Regions from separate parts of the Homo sapiens genome. Here region 2 is linked to region 1. Evidence: promoter capture Hi-C in 16 types of primary human blood cells and fetal thymus (Javierre and others, 2016). All regions are on one chromosome and are shown on one strand. The core of a region is centred on a gene start or on the middle of the fragment in contact, and the rest is flanking DNA. Distances in the headings are between cores, read along the strand shown. Region 1 overlaps CKAP2L (cytoskeleton associated protein 2 like). Region 2 holds the start of IL36A (interleukin 36 alpha).

Region 1 (5,843 bases), core at 1,597-4,096:
TAGGGTGCAACAAAGGCATGGATTCCTGTCTTCTCTTTTTATTCCTTTTAAAACACTACCATGTTTTAACCAAATAACTGAATTGTAGCCTCATTCTCAAAGAATCTACTATTATCTATTTTATGTCCTTCTTACCACATGTAGTGGGTTACTTAGCTACATGACTTGATTGTTCCCCAGTTAAATCTACTCTTTTTTTTTGAGATGGAGTTTCGCTCTTGTTGTCCAGGCTGGAGTGCAGTGGCGTGATCTTCATTCACTCCAAATTCCACTTTCTGGGTTCAAACGATTCTCCTGCCTCAGCCTCCTGAGTATCTGGGATTACAAGCACGCACCACCACAACTGGCTAATTTTTCTTTTCTGTTTTTTTTTTTTTTTTTTTTTTTTTTTAAAGACAAGACAGGGTTTCACCACGTTGGTCAGGCTGGTCTCAAACTCCTGACCTCAGGTGATCCACCTGCCTTGGCCTCCCAAAGTGCCGGGATTACAGGCGTGAGCTACCGTATGCAGCCTAAATCTACTATTAAAGGAAAAAGATTTGTCACCTTTTAAGATAACAAGAAGAATCCAATTTATTTTCTAAAGATAGCTTGTTTTTTCTTTCCATTCATATAACAAGTATCGTAAGCAATTATAATGTCACTCGTGTTTGGCACAATATATGTCTCATAGAAGAGTCTTCTAAAGGTTATGACCACTGACAGTGATGGTCATCCAATTGAAGAGATTCCTGAGATAGCTATTTTTAAAGCGTAACACAAATTTAGATGAGTATGTTGGTGGGTTTATTATGATTAAACATGTAACTTAAGGCATTTCTCCTTTCTGCCTCAGTCTCTTCCAGCAAAGAGCTGTTTGTCTTCTGCCATCTAGGATTCCAAGGAAGTGGGACACTCCAGTCTAGGCTGTTTTGGTGGAAACAACCTTTGTTCAGTATTGAGTAGTGCATTTACTTGTAATAATACAAATAAGTCAGCTGATGACAATGGCTGAAAGGGCCAGGTCATGGAAACCAAGAAGTGAGAAGCATTTCAGGGGATGATTCTTTTCTTCTTTTTCCTATATGTCCTGGATGATTTTTACTGGTACAGCTAGAGAAGATGAATTTAAATTCAAAAATAATAGTACCTTCTGTGGTTCTGTTTGAGTCTTGCAAGATATTAAGAACAACTTTCCGCAACTCTTGTATTGGCTGGAAGGAAGGAAGAAAACATACAAAATCTTAAAAACATTCATGCAAAAAATTTGCTAAGGAACTTTAACTTCAAATACATGTTTTATAATAAAAGTTTCCTTTTAAAATCTCGTCTAACTATAAATCTTTTGTCTAGCTTGACAGTTTTATAGCTTCATGAGAAAAGTAAAGGAACAGAGAAAATTCTGATTAAGTGTTGGCACACTCGACTTAATGAACAGATGTATTTAAAGTTGTCCATAATGTAATTTGTCTACATCAAATTCTATTTTCCTATTGATTTGTATAATACTGTCAAATATGTATTCCTACATAAAAATTCTGGCCCAATGATGTAAAGCTAGCCACACAGAAAATGCATTTTATATATAGATATAGATATATTTTCTTGAGACAGAGTCTTACTCTGTCCCAGGCTGGAGTGCAGTGGCGCGATCTCGGCTCATTGCAAGCTCTGCCTCCTGGGTTCATGCCATTCTCCTGCCTCAGCCTCCCAAGTAGCTGGGACTACAGGCGCCCACCACCACGCCCAGCTAATTTTTTGTATTTTTAGTAGAGATGGGGTTTTACCGTGTTAGCCAGGATGGTCTCGATCTCCTGACATCGTGATCCACCCGCCTCGGCCTCCCAAACTGCTGGGATTACACGAGTGAGCCACTGTACCTGGCCCCAAACACAATGTTTTTTGAGATGGAGTCTCTGTCACCCAAGCTGGAGTGCAATGGTGCGGTATCGGCTCACCACAAACTCCACTTCCAGGGTTCAAGTGATTCTCCTGCCTCAGCCTCCCGAAGAGCTGGGATTACAGGCATGCGCCACCCCATCTGGCTAATTTTTCTATTTTTAGTAGAGACGGGGTTTCGCTACGTTGGCCAGGCTGGTCTCAAACTCCTGATCTCAAGTGATCCGCCTGCCTCAGCCTCCCAAAGTGCTGAGATTACAGGGGTAAGCCACTGTGCCTGGCCCAGATACAATCTTTGTAGGCATTTTGAGTAATTTTCTCCAGCTTTTCCTGTCTTTCTTCTTTTATTTGTTAACATACTTAGAAAAAAAAACCTTCATGGAAAAGTAATTTTCTGATAAAATTATCTGAGATAGGCTTTATTTTTCAAGTATGTAAACCATGCCATGAAGCAGAAGCTGCACTTTCCCACAAGAAAATTATAGTTGGAGGTTTGTCTTCCTTACCTGGAACTCTGTATCAAATAGATATAAACTGACAATAAAGCATAAAAGCAAAGCTTTCCGTACATTTTTTCAAAATCCAAAATAGAATTATGATTTCAGCTAAATGAATGGGAATAAATGTATAGAATATATTACAAAGAGTGAATTCTATACAACATTCATCAAGCATATTTTATATTTGTATAGCCTTCTGGTTAATGATGGTGGATTAAATATACGTTTATTTCTAATCTCTCTTGAAAATCGACTGAAAGGATAATAAAGGGATTAAGAAGAGGCAATAACCACAAAACATAGGAGAGAAGAAATGACAATAAGGTTTTGGAAGCTGCAGTGCAGAAGGAAGAGAGGTAAACAATTTGATCTACTTGAGAGAGTTGAATCCCAAGCTGGCAGTGTGGCTAAGAAACAACCTGACAGAAAGGCTAAGGAATGGGTGGTAGGGCCCAAATTAGGAGGACTCTTTAGCATCTGTTCAAAAAGCAGTCAGACCTCCAAATCCATCCTGCACCCCTAAACTCTATGCAGCCTAGTAACTGTGTCTGACTCCCTTCATCCTAACAGAAAACTGGGAATGTATTCTGCAAGTCTCTGAGGGATATCATGCAAGATTAGGATAGGGTGCTTTCTGAGAAAAGGAGATAAGCAAAAGTTTCTATGTTGAGGGTTGAGACTCCCTGCTCTCTTCTCTCCCACAGCACTGGCAGCCTGGTGTCTAGCTCCCAGGAAGGAGATTGGAACAGATTTCTCCAGATAACTTGACCAGCTTAAGAGGAAAGACCTAAAGATACTGATATTGAGGGTTTTCTAACTAGTCAACTCAGCCAGATCACCCTGTGTTGAAGCCCCATCCATGTGTCTCGGGCTTTAAATAAGCTTTTTCAGACCCACCTTTTATATGTGCAAACAGCCCAGTTTCACCAGCATCTGTGTAAAGCCTTTAAAGAATAATAGAGAACAAAACAAAAAGAACAAACAAACAATAACAAGAGAGAAAGAAATGAAAAACATTGGAGAAGAAATAGACAATGTAGGAAGAAGAAAACTAATATGGGTTCTAAAAACAAGGGATCCACCCAACTTAAGAAGGATGTAAAGGGAATCTAAAGGTGATGGTAAAGAGATCCCAGAAAGACAGCTGGTGAAGACGGCAGTAAAAAGTAACTTGTTCAGTCTGGAATAAGCCAGAAGGGTCTAGGAGAAAGCTCTTTATCTAAGAAAAAGGAATCAATAGAATATCTGATGTTTTCAAAGTATTGAGGAACTTAGACAATTAGCGAAGAGTTTGTGAATTAATTATATAATAAATACTCAGAAAACTAAGCAAAGGCAAAACAAGACAATAACTCCAGGAAAAGTAGAAAGTTGTGCTTGAAAGGCAAAGTAATCATAGTATATATTGCATGGCTCAACATATTCATGTATTTTTTTTTTTTTTTGAGACAGTCTTGCACTGTTGCCCAGGCTGGAGTGCAGTGGCCCGATCTCGGCTCACTGCAAGCTCTGCCTCCCAGGTTCATGCCATTCTCCTGCCTCAGCCTCCCGAGTAGCTGGGACTACAGGTGCCCGCCACCACGCCCGGCTAACTTTTTTGTATTTTTTAGTAGAGATGGGGTTTCACCATGTTAGCCAAAATGGTCTCGATCTCCTGACCTTGTGATCCACCTGCCTCGGCCTCCCCAAGTGCTGGGATTACAGGCGTGAAACACCGTGCCCAGCCCATATATTTCTTATATATTCATAACAATGTGAATGCTAAATAGTGACCAGAATTTCCATGACTCTAATGAAAGTATAAGGAATGGCAAAGGTCTATAAGGATGGTAAATAGGGGTGTGTATTTGTGTGTGCTGGGGATCTGTGTATGTATGTGTGAAAGAGGGCTAAATCTTCACTCTGCATAGCTGGAAGTCCATAAATCATATCTAAAACTGAAAAATCAAGAAACAGAAACACGTTTTCTGAAACTATAGAGGTTAATATAAAAATAAATCAGTTTGCTCTAGGAAGGGGAAAATGGGAGGGAAGGAAGGCAGAGGTCTTACTGAACGAAACTTATCAAACTACTTGACTGCTTAAACTATGTGCATGTACAATTCTGATTTTGAACCATTATGGAAAAAGGTATCACACAGAATACAGAACATGACATGGAAAATGACATTTTAAGGAAAAGCATTATAAAACTATTTGATGCAGTTTTTGTAAATAATAATTATATAGTTTTTTTTTCTAAATTTTAGAATTAAAAGTTATTTCATGCAATGGCTCTGAATTATTGATTTAAGGATGCTGACGTATTGGGTTTAATATATTTTTAAGTTCTTTATGGTAAGGTATGACTTTATAAGTGTTGGATATTGATGTTGCAAACTTCTAACCATCATATTACAAACAACAACAGAGAACTCACATGAAAGAGAATTTTAAGAAGTTACCCACCCAAGACAGATACTCACTGTTGCCCCATTTTTAATGGCCTCTTCATATAGCCCAATAACATCAAAGGTGCCTTTACTTGCCAACAACTTTGCTTTGCAGATCCAGAATTTAGCAAATTTTTCAGCTTCAGGAATGCTGGACAATATGTTAAGTATTTCATTAGAAGGTACACCCTGAAATAAACCAAAATATCCAGAGGTAATTATTACCATTTCACTGTTAGTCTCACATCTCCTAATATTTATTACAGCAGGTATGCAGAAATTGGTTTGATCACTAATATTTTTGAACTTTTAAAAAAATTTCAATTTTACTGAGGTACAATGTACATGTAATAAAATGCACCTGTTTTAATTATCCATTTTAATGATTTGAGATTAATAATAATTATTATTTTTTTTTTGAGATGGAGTCTTGCTCTGTCGTCCAGGCTGGAGTGCAATGGCGCGATCTCGGTTCACTGCAACCTCCACCTCCCAGGTTCAAGCAAGTCTCCTGCCTCAGCCTCCCCAGTAGCTGGGACTACAGGCACATGCCACCACATGCTCGGCTAATTTTTTGTATTTTTAGTAGAGATGGGGTTTCACCGTGTTAGCCAGGATGGTCTTGATCTCCTGACCTCGTGATCCGCCCACCTCAGCCTCTTAACGTGCTGGGATTACAGGCATGAGCCACCATGCCTGGCTTAATTTTTCTTTTTTTTTTTGAGACAAGGTCTTACTCTGTTGCCCAGGCTGGAGTGCAGTGGTACGATCACAACTCGCTGCAACCTCTACCTCCTGGGATCAAGCAATCCTCCCACCTTAGCCTCTCGAGTAGCTGAGACCACAGGCATGAGCCACTGAGCCTGGCTTCCTCATCATTAAATTTTAAGAGTTATATGAGACCAAATAGAAAATGTTTATCATAGCTGAAGGTAAGAAATATGTTCATTTTTACATGGTACAAAAACAAAACAAATCCTAGAGTAAACATTTACATATTCATAATATTCCATATTTATAATAACGAGAACAC
Region 2 (5,843 bases), core at 2,497-4,996, 260 kb after region 1:
ACTATATCAGCAGAGAGCATATAGTGGTTTTACTGTTCCCTTATTTTAGATCCTGGTTCTGTAGGTCTGGAGTAGGACCTGAGATTCTGCATTTCTGGCAAGCTTCAAAATAATGCCAATGTATCATCCATAAAGTACACCTTAAGTATTAAAGATGTACACAACAAGGAAAATTTTATCTAATGATTTGGCAATACATGAATAATAGTAGCCAAAATAAATGGTGGAAATTGTGCTATAGGATTTGGGAAAGATTTGCAGGGTAGAGGTGACTATATTAAACTTTGAAGTGAGTAATGAAGGATAGATAGGGATGGACAAAGGAATGAAATCCCAAGACAGGTCTAGTTCTGGATAGCTGAAGAGATAGAGAAGGCTGCAACTCTAGGCTTTACTCCTGTGGAATTCTTTTCTTGCAGAGTGAGAAGTTTCCTTCATCATATTTGGCTCAGTGTCCTTTCTCAGGAGCATTCACCCTTTTGGCTATAAAGGATGTTTCCTCCATGCTAGAGAGAAATAAGTACAGGTCTTGAACAATCTGGTATCACCACAGCCCTCACCACCTCCACTGATGGCACTGTGGCCTAAGTACCCAGGCCATATAGAGCTCCAAGTATCTATGGGATGAAATAAGAATTTTAAAGGACCTACATCTTAGCTGTTGTCACAAATGAGTTTGCATTCATATGTGCAGCATCCAAACCAATATGTTTTGTCTGTTTGCATCTTCATACCTATGGAAGGACCTTGGGCCTCTTCCCCCAAGATATTCATGTGGGTTCAGTTCTGTGCAGAGAGAGTGGAGCTGATGTCATAGGCTCTGAACTTTCTTCTTTGAGTATGGAAATCATCTTATGCTAATGGAGACCTGAGGAAGCTCCTCTTTATAAACTCAGCGTGATACCAAATTCTAATTTTGACTCAGGGATACCTGCTACACATTTAAATTTGGGCTATACATGATTTCACACTCTTGAGGAGATGACTGTGGGGCTCCCTGGGACAAAATTTTAATGGCCTTTTATATCATACCATGCAGTAGGAATATCTGGGAAGGAGACAGGGTGTAAACAGAAGGAAATTCTCCTGCTGGCCAGATAGGTCATTGATGAAGTTGCAAAAAAACCGAGATCTGAGATGATCTATTGGTAGTCACAGCAAAAATGCTGACTGAGATAAACAGGTCAATCTGGGGCTTGGTGACAGACATAGGGGACTCATTAGGTCAGTTGCTCCAGGAAGCTGTCACTTATGGAGAGCTTTTCATGCTCTTCTTTAACCCACATAACAGCCCAGCAAGGTGTAATGCATTTCATATGCGTCATCTGAGGATCAGGGATGTGATAGAATTTCTCCAAAGACACAATTCCAAAAGTTGCAAAACCTAATTTTGAATGCACATCTTTTGAATACAAGTATTTTGCTTTCAAACACCAAACTACTGTGTTAGTTTGGGTTCTCCCCAAGGCAGATCCTGGATGCAGGGAGCTCATTCAGGGGATTATTCCAGGAGATCCAATAGAGAAAATGCTAGTGATCTTGTTACTATTATGGGGCAACTCTGAGAAACCTTAGTGTTATCGTATCAGAGGATGGGGTGGCTGAACATTTGTCTACCAGTTTCTTTCACCACTTACTGAAGTTGCCCCTGAGATGGAAGCCCTAGAGGTGTGAAGCTGACAGATGCTAGGATCTCCAACAGCAGTTGTGAACTCAGGTTGTTGAAGGTATGGAGCAGAGCATCAACAGTATTACCTCAGCTTCCTTTTAGTGTAGACCTAATGTCAGGTACTGCGAGCTCAGAGCACTGGGGCCTCTGGCAGCCAGGCTTCCTTTCCTGCTGTATTAGTCAGGAGCCTCCAGAGAGATAGAATCATTAGGATGTGTGTTTATGCACACAAACACAGACACACATACAGAATCGGCACTTTGTATCTGCAGGTTCAACCAACCAGCATTGAGGGATGCTGAGCCTGTGGATGAAGAGGGCTGACTTTTTGTATAAGTGGGTTCTGCAGGGTCAACTGACAAACTTGTGTAGAGACAGGGTTTTGCTGTGTTGGCCAGGCTGGTCTTGAACTCCTGACCTCAGGTGATCTGCCTGCCTCGGCCTCCCAAAGTTCTGGGATTACAGACATGAGCCATTGTGCTTCAACTTTAAGTTTTTTAGTCATAATTGTGTAAGCTGAACCAATTAAGATGTCTATGATATTGGCTATCATTTCTGCTGTTAATATTCAGTCCTCTTCAACTAGGGCACAAAAAGATTAGTTTTTTCCTTGCAAAGTGATGTGGATGGTCTGCTGCTGCAGGTGCTATTTTCAATATTGTCTCACTTCTTAAAATGAGTTATCCATTGTAAACTGCTGATTTCTTTGGGTCATTGTCCCCACAAACTTTTTATAAGCCATCAATGATTTCACCATTCTTCCACCCAAGTTTCACCATAAATTTGATTTTTGTTCTTGCTTCAATTTTAGAAGAATTCATGTTGATCTTATAGGGGCTCTTTTCAAACTGATGTCTTACCTTTCTTAGTGCCTCAAACTAGATCCTGTTCAAACACCTTATAACAAGTTAGTAGGAGTTTATTTTGGTGCAAAATAATTCAAAATCCATGCATAGTTTTTTTCATAATATGCATTTTCCATGAACTTTTTGATGACCTCTTGTATGAAAGGGGATTTATTAGGGGAATGAACTCATGCAATTTTGGAGGCTGAGAAATCCCATGACAGACCACCTGCAAGCTGGAGACCCTGGGATGCAGGTAACATGCTCAGTTCAAGTCCTAAAGCCTCAGAACTAGGAAGCCACTGGTGTAATTCTCACTTTGGGATAGAAAGCCTGAGAACCCAGGGAGATGCTGATATTAAGTCCTGGAGTCCAAAGTCTGGAGTTATAATGTCCAAAGGCAGGAGAGAATGCCCCAGCTCCAGGAGAGACAGAAAATCACCTTTTCTCTGTCTTTTCCATGCCATCCATGCCCCCGGCCAGTTGGATGGATCCCACCTACGTTGAGGGTAGATGTTCCCCACTAGTACACTGACTTACACACCAATCTTCTTTGGAAACACCCTCATAGACTTACCCCAAACTAATGTATTACCAGTTCTTTAAGTATTCCTTAAACCAGTCAAATTGACACTTAAAATTTACTATCACGCTACCTATACTAGAGATAGTGATCTAGAGTCCATTGAGGTGGCTAGAGTGCTCAGGAGCTGGCTTTGCTACAGTAATACTCCCTTCTTCCATGGAGAAGCAGCATGCACAGTGGCTCTGAGAAGCTGGAGGAGGGTCACTGGAGTGAGTGGGCTTCTGGTCTGAAATTGACCAAGAATATAGTTCCTGTGGACCAGGAGTGATTAGAAGCTACAGAGGTCTTAAGAGACCTATCCCTCCTCAGTCTACCTTGCACTTACTGAGGGCTCCCACTCTTAGGAATAATTCCATCGTTTCATTTTGTGGCATCAGAGATGAGTCATTGACCCGGAAGAAGTCCCGTAATGTTTCTCAACTCAGTATCTGTGACTATATTTCCTGCTCTTAAAAGTTTAGCATGCCCTCATGTTTCAGGTTGCTTGGAGAAGTCTTAACCATGCTGTTCACATAAAGAGTCACTAAATCCTCTGGCATCAGGAACTAGAAAATATCCTGAGTGTTGGGCAGTGCCAGACTTAGTGAGGCAGAACTTCCTTCCTTGCCCATGTGGATAAAAGGCCTGGGCCCTGTTACAGCCTGTCAGAAAACCCAAGTGCAGTAGAAGCCATTGTTCATAATGGTAGGGATACAGGGTCCTTCGTAACAGATTATCAGTGTGGCCTATGCTGGAAAGTCTGGTGACCTCTGATTTTTTTTGCTTCCAGGTCTTTGGCCTTGGCACTCTTTGTCATATTAGAGTTCCTGGGTCTAGGCCTGGGCAGGATTCATAGGTGCAGCTGCTTCTGCTGGAGGTAGACTGCATCCAACAAAGTAAGGGTGCTGGGTGAGTTCTGGGAGTATAGATTCTGACTGGGGTCACTGCTGGGCTGGCCGCCAGTCTTTCATCTGACCCAGGGTTAAACTGTGGCTTGGGACTGACTCAGGTCCTCTCTTGGGGTCGGTCTGCACATAAAAGGACTCCTATCCTTGGCAGTTCTGAAACAACACCACCACAATGGAAAAAGGTAAAGATCCTCGTGGAAGGGCGAAAAATTGACAAGGGGGTGATATTCTGTGCTCTCATTCTTACTAATTTACATTTTGACTTTCTCAACAGCATTGAAAATTGACACACCTCAGCAGGGGAGCATTCAGGATATCAATCATCGGGTGTGGGTTCTTCAGGACCAGACGCTCATAGCAGTCCCGAGGAAGGACCGTATGTCTCCAGGTGAGTAGCCACGGTCTGTGAAAGGCAGCTCCTTTGGCCAGTGCTGTTGTGTGTTTGGTGCTCAGATGTTATTCCACAGTGGGCTTGTTAACCGGGCATATCTACAGAGAGGAGCATCTCACAGACAATAATGAATAGAGGGTGAGCATAAGGTTGTTCTGGGACTATGGTCATGAAGTCAGAGAAGAGAGAGAAGGCTTAAGGGAGACTGAAGGGTCAGCCTATGAAAAACAGTGGAAGACGTATTCTGAGAAACTTCAAGGAGTAAGAGTAGGACAAAAGAGGGTAATCTATGGGAGGACCAGTTTTTGAATCCATGAAAGACTGACTTTTCTAATGGAAAGTGTTCCCCAAACATAGGATGGGTGTCCCGGTTAGGTGGTGGGTGGTGAGGTGACCATTCTATGAGTGCACTGTGAGTGTCAGTTAGCAGATTCCCTTAAAACTCTGGCTCAGAGGTACCACCCTGGAAATGGCAGCTGAACACCACTTTTCACATCGTGTTCCCAGTCACTATTGCCTTAATCTCATGCCGACATGTGGAGACCCTTGAGAAAGACAGAGGGAACCCCATCTACCTGGGCCTGAATGGACTCAATCTCTGCCTGATGTGTGCTAAAGTCGGGGACCAGCCCACACTGCAGCTGAAGGTGAGTGTGGAAGACAGGTCCTGCCATTTATTTGATGGAAACTCAGATTTCAGGATCTTTTAAAAGACAATGTACTTATTATGCTCATGCATTTTTATTTTTGGTTTCCTTGGGGTTGGTATATGTTATGAAAGACTAAGAAAAATTGCAGGGACATTTTGAAACAAACCTACTAAAATGACTTATTATTTTAATTTACAAAAATATTAATAATTTGGCAAGGATGATGTCTAACTTCAATAGAACACACACACAGAGTAAAATCAGCAAGGACATTTTAGCAGTTAATTATCACAAAGTAGACGAACTTATTAAAACATCTTTTTGGCAAAAAATACATTGCAACTTTAAATGAACAAACATAATTCTCTGTAATAAACACTTCAATAATCGCAATTTTCCATTATTAAAAAAAGATAATTATAGCAGGCCTCTGTGTACTACAGGAACTCTCTTGACCCTTTTCAGTAAACAAGCATAAGCAGACACTCAACTTGATGACAAGATATAAAACAGTGTTTTTCAGCCAGGGGTGATATTGCTCCAGGGACATTTGTCAATGTCTGGAGATGTTTTGGTTGTGACAACCTGGGATGGGGGTGTGATACTTGCATTTATCGGGTAGATGACAGGGATGCTACTAAACATCCTATATTATTATACAGGACAGACCCTGAAAACAAAGAATCATCTTGCCTAAAATGTCAATAGTGCTGAAGGTGCAGAAACCTGACAGAAAATAACTGTTTTAATTTGAAATTTACAGTAACTGTTACATAAATATTCTTTAAGTTTCTGTTTCTGAACAACAAATAATG

Evidence for each region. Contacts are between HindIII fragments. The CHiCAGO score rates a contact against its expected background, and 5 or more counts as called.
Region 2: the fragment with the promoter of IL36A here is called in contact with a fragment that was not itself captured in region 1 in 2 of 17 cell types (M1 macrophages and M2 macrophages); the score reaches 9.5 in M1 macrophages.

The regions. Positions count from the first base shown.
Region 1 is chr2:112,741,577-112,747,419 of GRCh38, forward strand. CKAP2L (cytoskeleton associated protein 2 like) reads right to left here. Exons shown (of 9, transcript NM_152515.5): 6 at 4,844-4,999; 7 at 1,130-1,193. It also overlaps a transcript of NT5DC4 not described here. Among named protein-coding and RNA genes, the nearest start is that of CKAP2L, 20 kb to the right of the region's middle. The HindIII fragment of the contact is 823 bases long and covers 2,436-3,258 here.
Region 2 is chr2:113,001,713-113,007,555 of GRCh38, forward strand. IL36A (interleukin 36 alpha) reads left to right here and starts at 3,747. Exons shown (of 4, transcript NM_014440.3): 1 at 3,747-4,169; 2 at 4,262-4,375; 3 at 4,886-5,025. The coding sequence starts at 4,160. The HindIII fragment of the contact is 6,987 bases long and covers 101-5,843 here.